Linked DNA regions of Homo sapiens: region 1 is linked to region 2. The links are contacts of gene promoters, found by promoter capture Hi-C in blood cells and fetal thymus (Javierre and others, 2016). All regions are on one chromosome and are shown on one strand. Each heading gives the region's core, a stretch centred on a gene start or on the middle of the fragment in contact. The rest is flanking DNA. Distances are from core to core; before and after follow the strand shown.

The links. The method cuts DNA at HindIII sites, captures the fragments that hold promoters and counts their contacts. A CHiCAGO score of 5 or more calls a contact.
Region 1: a contact is called between a fragment that was not itself captured here and the fragment with the promoter of MMP10 in region 2, in 1 of 17 cell types (endothelial precursors). The highest score is 5.1, in endothelial precursors.

The regions. Positions count from the first base shown.
Region 1 is chr11:102,968,511-102,972,928 of GRCh38, forward strand. No RefSeq gene overlaps it. Among named protein-coding and RNA genes, the nearest start is that of MMP13, 15 kb to the left of the region's middle. The HindIII fragment of the contact is 1,939 bases long and covers 2,030-3,968 here.
Region 2 is chr11:102,779,378-102,783,901 of GRCh38, forward strand. MMP10 (matrix metallopeptidase 10) reads right to left here and starts at 1,251. Exons shown (of 10, transcript NM_002425.3): 1 at 1,110-1,251; 2 at 127-368. The coding sequence starts at 1,214. It also overlaps the pseudogene WTAPP1. The HindIII fragment of the contact is 1,913 bases long and covers 1-1,512 here.

The DNA.
Region 1 (4,418 bases), core at 1,749-4,248, 190 kb after region 2:
AATAGTGCCACAATAAACATACGTGTGCACGTGTCTTTATAGCAGCATGTTTTATAATCCTTTGGGTATATACCCAGTAATGGGATGGCTGGGTCAAATGGTATTTCTAGTTCTAGATCCCTGAGGAATTGCCACCCTGACTTCCACAATGGTTGAACTAGTTTACAGTCCCACCAACAGTGTAAAAGTGTTCCTATTTCTCCACATCCTCTCCAGCACCTGTTGTTTCCTGACTTTTTAATGATGACCATTCTAACTGGTGTGAGATGGTATCTCATTGTGGTTTTGATTTGCATTTCTCTGATGGCCAGTGATGATGAGCATTTTTTCATGCACCTTTTGGATGCATAAATGTCTTCTTTTGAGAAGTGTGTTCATATCCTTTGCCCACTTTTTGATGGGATTGTTTGTTTTTTTCTTGTAAATTTGTTTGAGTTCGTTGTAGATTCTGGATATTAGCCCTTTGTCAGGTGAGTAGATTGCAAAAATTTACTCTCATTCTGTAGGTTGCCTGTTCACTCTGATGGTAGTTTCTTTTGCTGTGTAGAAGCTCTTTAGTTTAATTAGATCACACTTGTCAATTTTGGCTTTTGTTGCCATTGCTTTTGGTGTTTTAGACATGAAGTCGTTGCCCACACCTATGTCCTGAATGGTATTGCCTAGGTTTTCTTCTAGGCTTTTTATGGTTTTAGGTCTAACATTTAAGTCTTTAATCCATCTCGAATTAATTTTTGTATAAGGTGTAAGGAACGGATACAGTTTCAGCTTTCCACATATGGCTAGCCAGTTTCCCCAGCACCATTTATTAAATAGGGAATCCTTTCCCCATTTCTTGTTTTTGTCAGGTTTGTCAAAGATCAGATAGTTGTAGATATGCGGCATTATTTCTGAGGGCTCTGTTCTGTTCCATTGGTCTATATCTCTGTTTTGGTACGAGTACCACACTGTTTTGGTTACTGTAGCCTTGTAGTATAGTTTGAAGTCAGGTAGCGTGATGCCTCCAGCTTTGTTATTTTGGCTTAGATTGACTTGGCAATGTGGGGTCTCTTTTGGTTCCATATGAACTTTACGGTAGTTTTTTCCAATTCTGTGAAGAAAGTCATTGGTAGCTTGATGGGGATGGCATTGAATCTATAAATTACCTTGGGGCAGTATGGCCATTTTCACCATATTGATTCATGTAATCCAGCATATAAACAGAACCAAAGACAAAAACCACATGATTATCTCAATAGATGCAGAAAAGGCCTTTGACAAAATTCAACAACCCTTCATGCTAAAAACTCTCAATAAATTAGGTATTGATGGGACGTATCTTAAAATAATAAGAGTTATCTATGACAAACCCACAGCCAATATCATACTGAATGGACAAAAACTGGAAGCATTCCCTTTGAAAACTGGCACAAGACAGGGATGCCCTCTCTCACCACTCCTATTCAACATAGTGTTGGAAGTTCTGGCCAGGGCAATCAGGCAGGAGAAGGAAATAAAGGGTATTCAATTAGGAAAAGAGGAAGTCAAATTGTCCCTGTTTGCAGATGACATGATTGTATATCTAGAAAACCCCATCGTCTCAGCCAAAAATCTCCTTAAGCTGATAGGCAACTTCAGCAAAGTCTCAGGATACAAAATCAATGTGCAAAAATCACAAGCATTCTTATATACCAATAACAGACAAAGAGAGAGCCAAATCATGAGTGAACTCCCATTCACAATTGCTTCAAAGAGAATAAAATTTCTAGGAATCCAACTTACAAGGGATGTGAAGGACCTCTTCAAGGAGAACTACAAACCAAACCACTGCTCAGTGAAATAAAAGAGGATACAAAGAAATTTAAAGGGTATTTTAAGCCACCTAGAAATGACTTAGTAACTGAGGATTCAAGTAAGAGAGATAAAGCCTGATATGGAATACGCAGAAGTGATTTGAGGATGATATAGACTTGTAGATCCTCCAAACACCTCCAGAGATCATCAAGCTTAATTCCTTTATATTACATTGAAAAACAGTTCAAAGACATTGAGAAGCTTCCTTAAAATTGCACAAAGTGATAAACTTGGTGCTGGAATTAGAGCCTTAGCCACCTGGCTAGGATAGCCCAGAATACTCTGTATTATCCCAAACTACTTCTTAACACGTAAAGATGTGATCTGCAAAAGTGAACCCTGCCAGCTATAGCAACATTACACATTGCATAGAGAAAAAATTATGAGCGACACGTTCACCTGTGTGTCAGGATACCAGTTAGCTGCTTCATTTTCTTAGGGAAAAAAATTATACTCCACTGCGTCAGGAGTTTCACACTTTGGCTGCGTCACCAGGGCTAAAGTTTCAGCATCCAGTTGGCCATTTGATTCTAGACCAAAGAAGGCCTGCCATATGCTGGGGTCTGTTCTGCAGGAGCTTGGAGTTTCTCCTCTCCTCTGTGTTGATCTCAAAGGAAGTTGATAAAAGGCTTTCAAATATGCTAGAAAGATAGCACACAATCATCACCGTTAAATGAAAAAACTACATGCTCAATTAGGGAAACACCAACAGGAAGGACCTGTTACCTCTGCAAGATGGAATTTCACTCCACATTGGTTAGGATATCTCATTCTCTAGAAGTACATAAGGGAACTGGTAGCAGCCAGCAGACAATGAGATTCCAGAGCACAAAGGCAATTTTCTCTGCCACTCGGTGGTCTGCAGATACCTTCATTTGGAGGTGAGTGTTTGGAGGGTGATAATTTGGGCATCTGCCTCACTGAGATGCTTTTATAGGGTTAAAGGGGTTGGCACAAGATTCATTTCTTATCCTTACTTTATTGGCACTACTTTTTGTTCAAGTACAGAGCAAGTATAACACACTCTTTTATCCAAAGTAAAAGTTTTTATAGGTAAAAACAAAGGCTTCATTCCTTGGTTAATGTCCTTAAATGTAGAATGTAAGTTTTGCCTTTTTGAGGATTTCATCTGTAAAATTGACTAGCAGCAGGCAGCTTGTAATTTGTCCCTTGACATGGAAGGAAGAAAGACAGGGAGGAAGAGAAGGGAGGAGGGAGGGAGAGAGGAATGGAGGAAGGGAGAGAGCAAAGGAGGGAGGGAGGGGAGGAATAGAAAAAGAAAGAGGAAGGGAGCAAGGGAGACGGGTGAGGAAGGAAGTGACATTTATTAGGAAGTCACTGACGGGCCAGGCACTGTCCTTGTGTTTTCACTCTTATTTACTTCAGTGAGTCTGTCCCAGACACCTAGATACGGATATGTGCAGAACTAGACAGGGCTATAAGACTAGGCAGAATTTCCCCCAAAGAGTCATGACCCAAGGGCCTTTGCTATGAGTTTGCCTCAGTGTGGGAACCCATCTAATTACCTTGCTGCCAGGACCATTTTAATCATTAGTCTAATCCCAAATGGGATAATATAATCCAGATGTAGGAATTCAGTCATTGCCTGGTAAAGCATCATTGAGGATTTGTGTTAAAATTTTTCAAAACCAAAATTATTTCCCAACTTTCCAAAACATTGGCAAACAGAAATGATTAGGCAGATTGGACTCCCTCTTGTACAAATATGCAAGTTGATGAATCTGATCAAGCAAGGGGTAGAATTTGATCCATCCTTCCTCCAGGGGGAAATGCTTTACACATTTTGGAAAGTCCTACACCTGTCAGTTTGTGCTGACTTCAGAGTGCTTTCAGCTTGAAGATGTTAGAACATTGCATAACTGGTAGAAATTGAGACATTTATGTTAATTTTCATTTGCTCCCAGGGTATTTTGTCATATCCAAATTAAATTAATGACTTTGAATCTGTTTGCTCTACCATTACTCATTTTCTAGAAAATCCAGTCACTTGATGGGGTTTGAGGCACATCACAATCCAAAAACTAAAATGAAGCCCCTCGGAACTTAAGCACTAACTCAAGAAATGGGTCCCAGAAACCGCTGGTGACCAAAGATAGTTTCCCAATGAGATCTAAGTAAGCTTATTCATTTTCAACCTATTTTCTGTTGTCCCAAGTGGTGGGACATGTGCACATGTCTTTGAACTGCACAGGGCACCAGCTGTCGTTCTACCTCTTTCTCTCTAAGAAAACATACTAGAAAGGAGTGAGAGTGACTTTATAAAAACAAAACAAAACAAAACAAAAAACTAGAATCTGAAATGAATGTTAAAATGTAAATTACTAAGATAAGTCAGCACTTTGTTATTATTTATCATAACTAAACTTACACAATTAGTGGAGACACTTTATTGAATTATGATAGCAGATTAGAAGATTTTCCAAAAATGTAAAGCATGAACATGGTAGTATTGAAATTAATACAGAAAACTCGATGTACTAAATATTCATCTGTAGATGAACTAAAGACTACGAAAGTGAACATAAAGTACTTTCTTTGAAAGCAAAACTACAGTGAAAAAATTGCAA
Region 2 (4,524 bases), core at 1-2,500:
GAAGAGGATGTTATTTTCTCCTGCCTTTATGAAAAATTGTTAAAGAAAACTTTATGTTACTTATCCAAATATGACGAGTAACTTATAAGGTTTCAATATTATGTGAAAACTAATCTGAACCATTACCTGTATGTAAGGTGGGTTTTCCTCCACTTCGGCATGCCAGGAAAGGAGCTGAAGTGACCAACGTCAGGAACTCCACACCTGGGCTTGCGCATCACCTCCAGAGTGTCAGTGTCTAGCTTCCCTGTCACCTCCAACCCAAGGAACTTCTGCATTCCTTGGATTTTTTTAACAATGAGATTACTGTCCTTTCTTCTAAACTGTTTCACATCCTTTTCGAGGTTGTAGTACTTTTCTAGGTATTGCTAATGGAAAATAGAATTTTTAGGGCATTTTTGTGATTTTCCATCATTTATCCAACTTTTATAATCCATCGTAATTTTCCTCTAGTTTCTTAAAACAAAAGAGGCTATCACATTTAATTTGATTTTTCATTAAGACTCCCCATTTCATACAAATTTTTAAATTTTATTGCAATGTTAGTTTGCTAGTCAAGTAAGGAATTGGGGATTGAAAATTCAAGTCTAGCATTATTTTTGTTAGTTTTTAAAGAAACCCTCTTTTAACATAGTTTTGTGAAAAGTTAGAATACTAACCTTTTCTACTTACATTGTTATTATAGACCTGGTTTAAGACTGAAGTGTGGTAAACTCTTTTGTCCAAATATGACAAGTAAAAATATGAAAACTATTACCTGATATGATTTAAAGATCAAACTTAGCATGCTCCCCTCCCCAATAATTTTAACTAAATAAATTCTAAAGCCAGAGGAGTTTCATATATTCTCCATATGTTCTTTTCACTTAGCCACAAATATACTGCTACTATTTTATTGTAACCTTGAGCAGTTATATTCCCTTTCTGAACCTTTCTTTTCTTCTCTGTTAACATAAAAATAATTTCCACCTCCAGCCTGTTAATTATTCTCTGATGCTACAGTTTTCTAACAAAGTGATCTCTAGTCTAATCATTCTGCTTTGTATTGGAAGACCAAGTAGACACAATTGAGCTGGCCAGTAGCTGCAATAGATGCCACCGTTAATTACCTGGGCAAGATCCTTGTTGGAGTCCTCCTCTTTTGCTGCCCCACTCAGAGGATAGGCAGAGCAGACTGGCAGACACAACAGCACAAGGAATGCAAGATGCATCATTCTCACTGCCCTTACCTTCTTTGTCTACTGGGCTTCTAGCTCTACCCCCTAGTGGCCTTTCTTTTATACAGAGACAATGCTGAGATCACCAACAGTATGATTCATGCATGTGTTTTTTAAGTCTGAATGTTCACAAACATTTAATGTAATGGTGATACAGCCTACATCAGTATTTTCCTTCAACTTTCTAAACTTGAAAGAATGATTAATCCCCAGGAAATGATTTCTGTGTTTGTAAAGACGAAAAAGAATTGGCTAGATAATTCACGTCTCTGTATTTACTTAAAGAGAGCTGACAAGCTTGGTAAAATGCCAAATGTTTTGACATTTTAAAATCAGTGCAATTTTCTTTTAAGAAGATTATGTTTTAAACTTAAATATAAGCAGGTAAGAATTAAGTAGGTCAACGGAAATAAATTCCAAATATAGTCGTGGTCTAAATGTGGGAGTTGTTATTTACAAAGATATTAAAACAAATATTTCACTTCTTGAGTCCTTGTTTACAATAGCTATTATTGATTTTCAGATGGATTTACTGGCCGTGGAGTAGGGGTATTGTGAGAAGGACATGGAGCATGTAGAGAAAAGAATCCAAAGAGAGAAGCTTTGGTGTTCACTCATTCTCCATTTCCCAGTGTATAATTATGTTCAAAGTAACTGCTCCATAAAACTTGTTAAATGGAAAAAATTAAATTGCATGTTAGACTGAAATGGTCCTCCTACCCTCTTCCTCTTCTTTGCTTTTAAAAATTCTTTTCCCCCTTTCTTTCTCCTCTTAAGGTACAAAGGAGGAGATGGATTGAGATCTGTAATGGGAAATGATTTCAAATCCTCCCTTTCTTTCACATGTCTAACGATCCACCCCTGCCCACAAATAGTATTTTCTTTCTTGTTTTCTCAGCCAAATAAAGTGCTTTTTACGCAGTAACACAGTAAGTCTGCAATAACTGTTTTGTCAAATTAACCTGTTAATATAAAGAACCCTGAAATTCTTATAGTAAAGAACTATATTTTTCTCTCACTAAAGATAAATTAACTCTACCATGTCTGAAGTACATAATTGCAAAGTGATGAGAGATTAAAATAATAAGTGTGTAGGAATGATCTTTTCAGTATCGCCCACCATCCCCACCCTACTTAAGGTAGCCTGGACAGGTGAGACTTCCAGGAACCAAGAGGCTCTGAGACTTCCAAGCCAGAGTTGGAGAGAAACTGGGATATACACTGAGCCAGCCAAGTCAACTTGTGACTTACTGTTGCCAAAGAGTTTGCTCTACAGTGTGGTGACATCAGCTTGAATATCAGAGGGAGAAGGACTGACAACTAGACTCAAATAAAGTCAGCTGGACATTGAGCAAGTACAGTCAGGCACTGTATAATGTTTCAGTCAACAATGGACCACATATATGATGGTGGTCCCATATGATTATAATGGAGCTTGATATGGTTTGGATCTGTGTCCCTGCCCAAATCTCATGTCGAACTGTCATTCCCAGTGTTGGAGGTGAAGCCTGGTGGGAGGTGATTGGATCACGGGGGCGGATTTCTCATGCCCATTTAGCACCATCCCATCGGTGATGTTCTTGTCATAGTGAGTGAGTGAGTTATCATGAGATCTGGATGTTTAAAAGTGTGTAGCACCTAGCCCCTCTCTTTCTTCTCCTGCTCTGGCCATGTAAAGTGCAGGCTCCTCTTTTGCCTTCCGCCATGATTGTAAGTTTCCTGAGGCCTCCCCAGAAGAAGGTGCCACCATGGTTCTCATATAGCCTGCAGAACCGTGAACCAATTAAATCTCTTTTCTTTATAAGTTACCCAGTCTCAGGTATTTTTGATAGCAATGCAAGAACAAACTAATACAGAGCTGATAAGCACCCATCAGCTATTGTCATTGTAGCCAACATAATGTCATAGTACAATACATTACCCATGTGTTTGTGATGATGCTGGTGTAAGCAAACCTACTGTGCTGCCATACGAAAGTCTAGCACATGCAATTGTGTACAGTACATAATTCTTGATAATAGTGATAAATGACTGTTTATGCATTTACTATACATTTTATCATTTATTTTAGAGTGTACCTTTTTTTTAAAAGTTAACTGTAAAACTGCTTCAGGCAGGTCCTTCAGAAGGCATTCCATGGTTACTGCCCTATGCAGGCATTATTATCATAGGAAACGACAGCTGCATCAGCGTTACTGCCCTGAAAGACCTTCTAGTGGAACTTGATGTGAAGGTAGAAAACAGTGATATTGATGATCCTGATCCTGTGTAGGCCTGGGCTAATTCGTGTTTTGTGTCTTCATTCTCAAAAAATAGTTTAAAAAATAAAAAAAATTAAAGATAGTAGAAAGCTTATAGGATAAGGATATCAAGAAAAAAATATTTTTGTACCTCTGTGAAACGTTTGTGTTTAACCTAAGTGTTATTACAAAAGAGTCAAAAAAAGTTTTAAATTAAAAAGTTTATAAAGTAAAAAAGTTACTACAGTAAGCTAAGGTTAATTTATATTGATGAAAGAAAAATGCTTTTATAAATTTAGTGTAGTCTAGGCATACAATGTTCATAAAGTCTACATAGTGTACAGATTCACTCACCACTCACTCACTGACTCACTTAGAGCAACTTCCAGTCTGGCAAGCTTCATTCCTGGTTAGTGCCCTATATAGTTGTACCATTTTTTATCTTTAATACCATCTTTTTATTGTATTTTTTAATGTTAAAATATGTGTAGATACAGTAATATTTATTATTATGTTACAATTGCCTCCAGTATTCAGTAGAATTTCATGCTGTATAGGTTTGTAGCCTAGGAGTAATAGGCTTGCTGGGCATGGTGGCTGACACCTCTACTCTCAGCTACTTGGAAGGCTGAGATGGGAGGATAACTTTCCCCAAGAAATTTTTAAAAGGCTATACCACATAGTCTAGGCATGTAGTAGGCTGTACCATAGAGGTTTGTGTAAGTTTAATCCATGGTGTTTGCACAATGGATAAATTGCCTAAGGACATGTTTCTTAGAATGTGTCCCCATTGTTAAGTCACACATGACTGTGTGTAATTAATTCAGGCCATTATTTTGTCATCTGTAAAATGGGGTGGATATAACCACACTCACAAAGTTATTTTGTATGCTTTATGCTGGGGAACAAATCTCTTCTTATTTCACTCCAACACCTTTAACAGACAAAGCTTGTTGGCCTGACAAATCTGTGACAATGCCCCTAGGCCCTGATTTGACAAGCTGTGAGATGCCCATTTTCGCTTGAGTCATAACTTTATTAGTGTTGACACATCCTGTTAATGGATT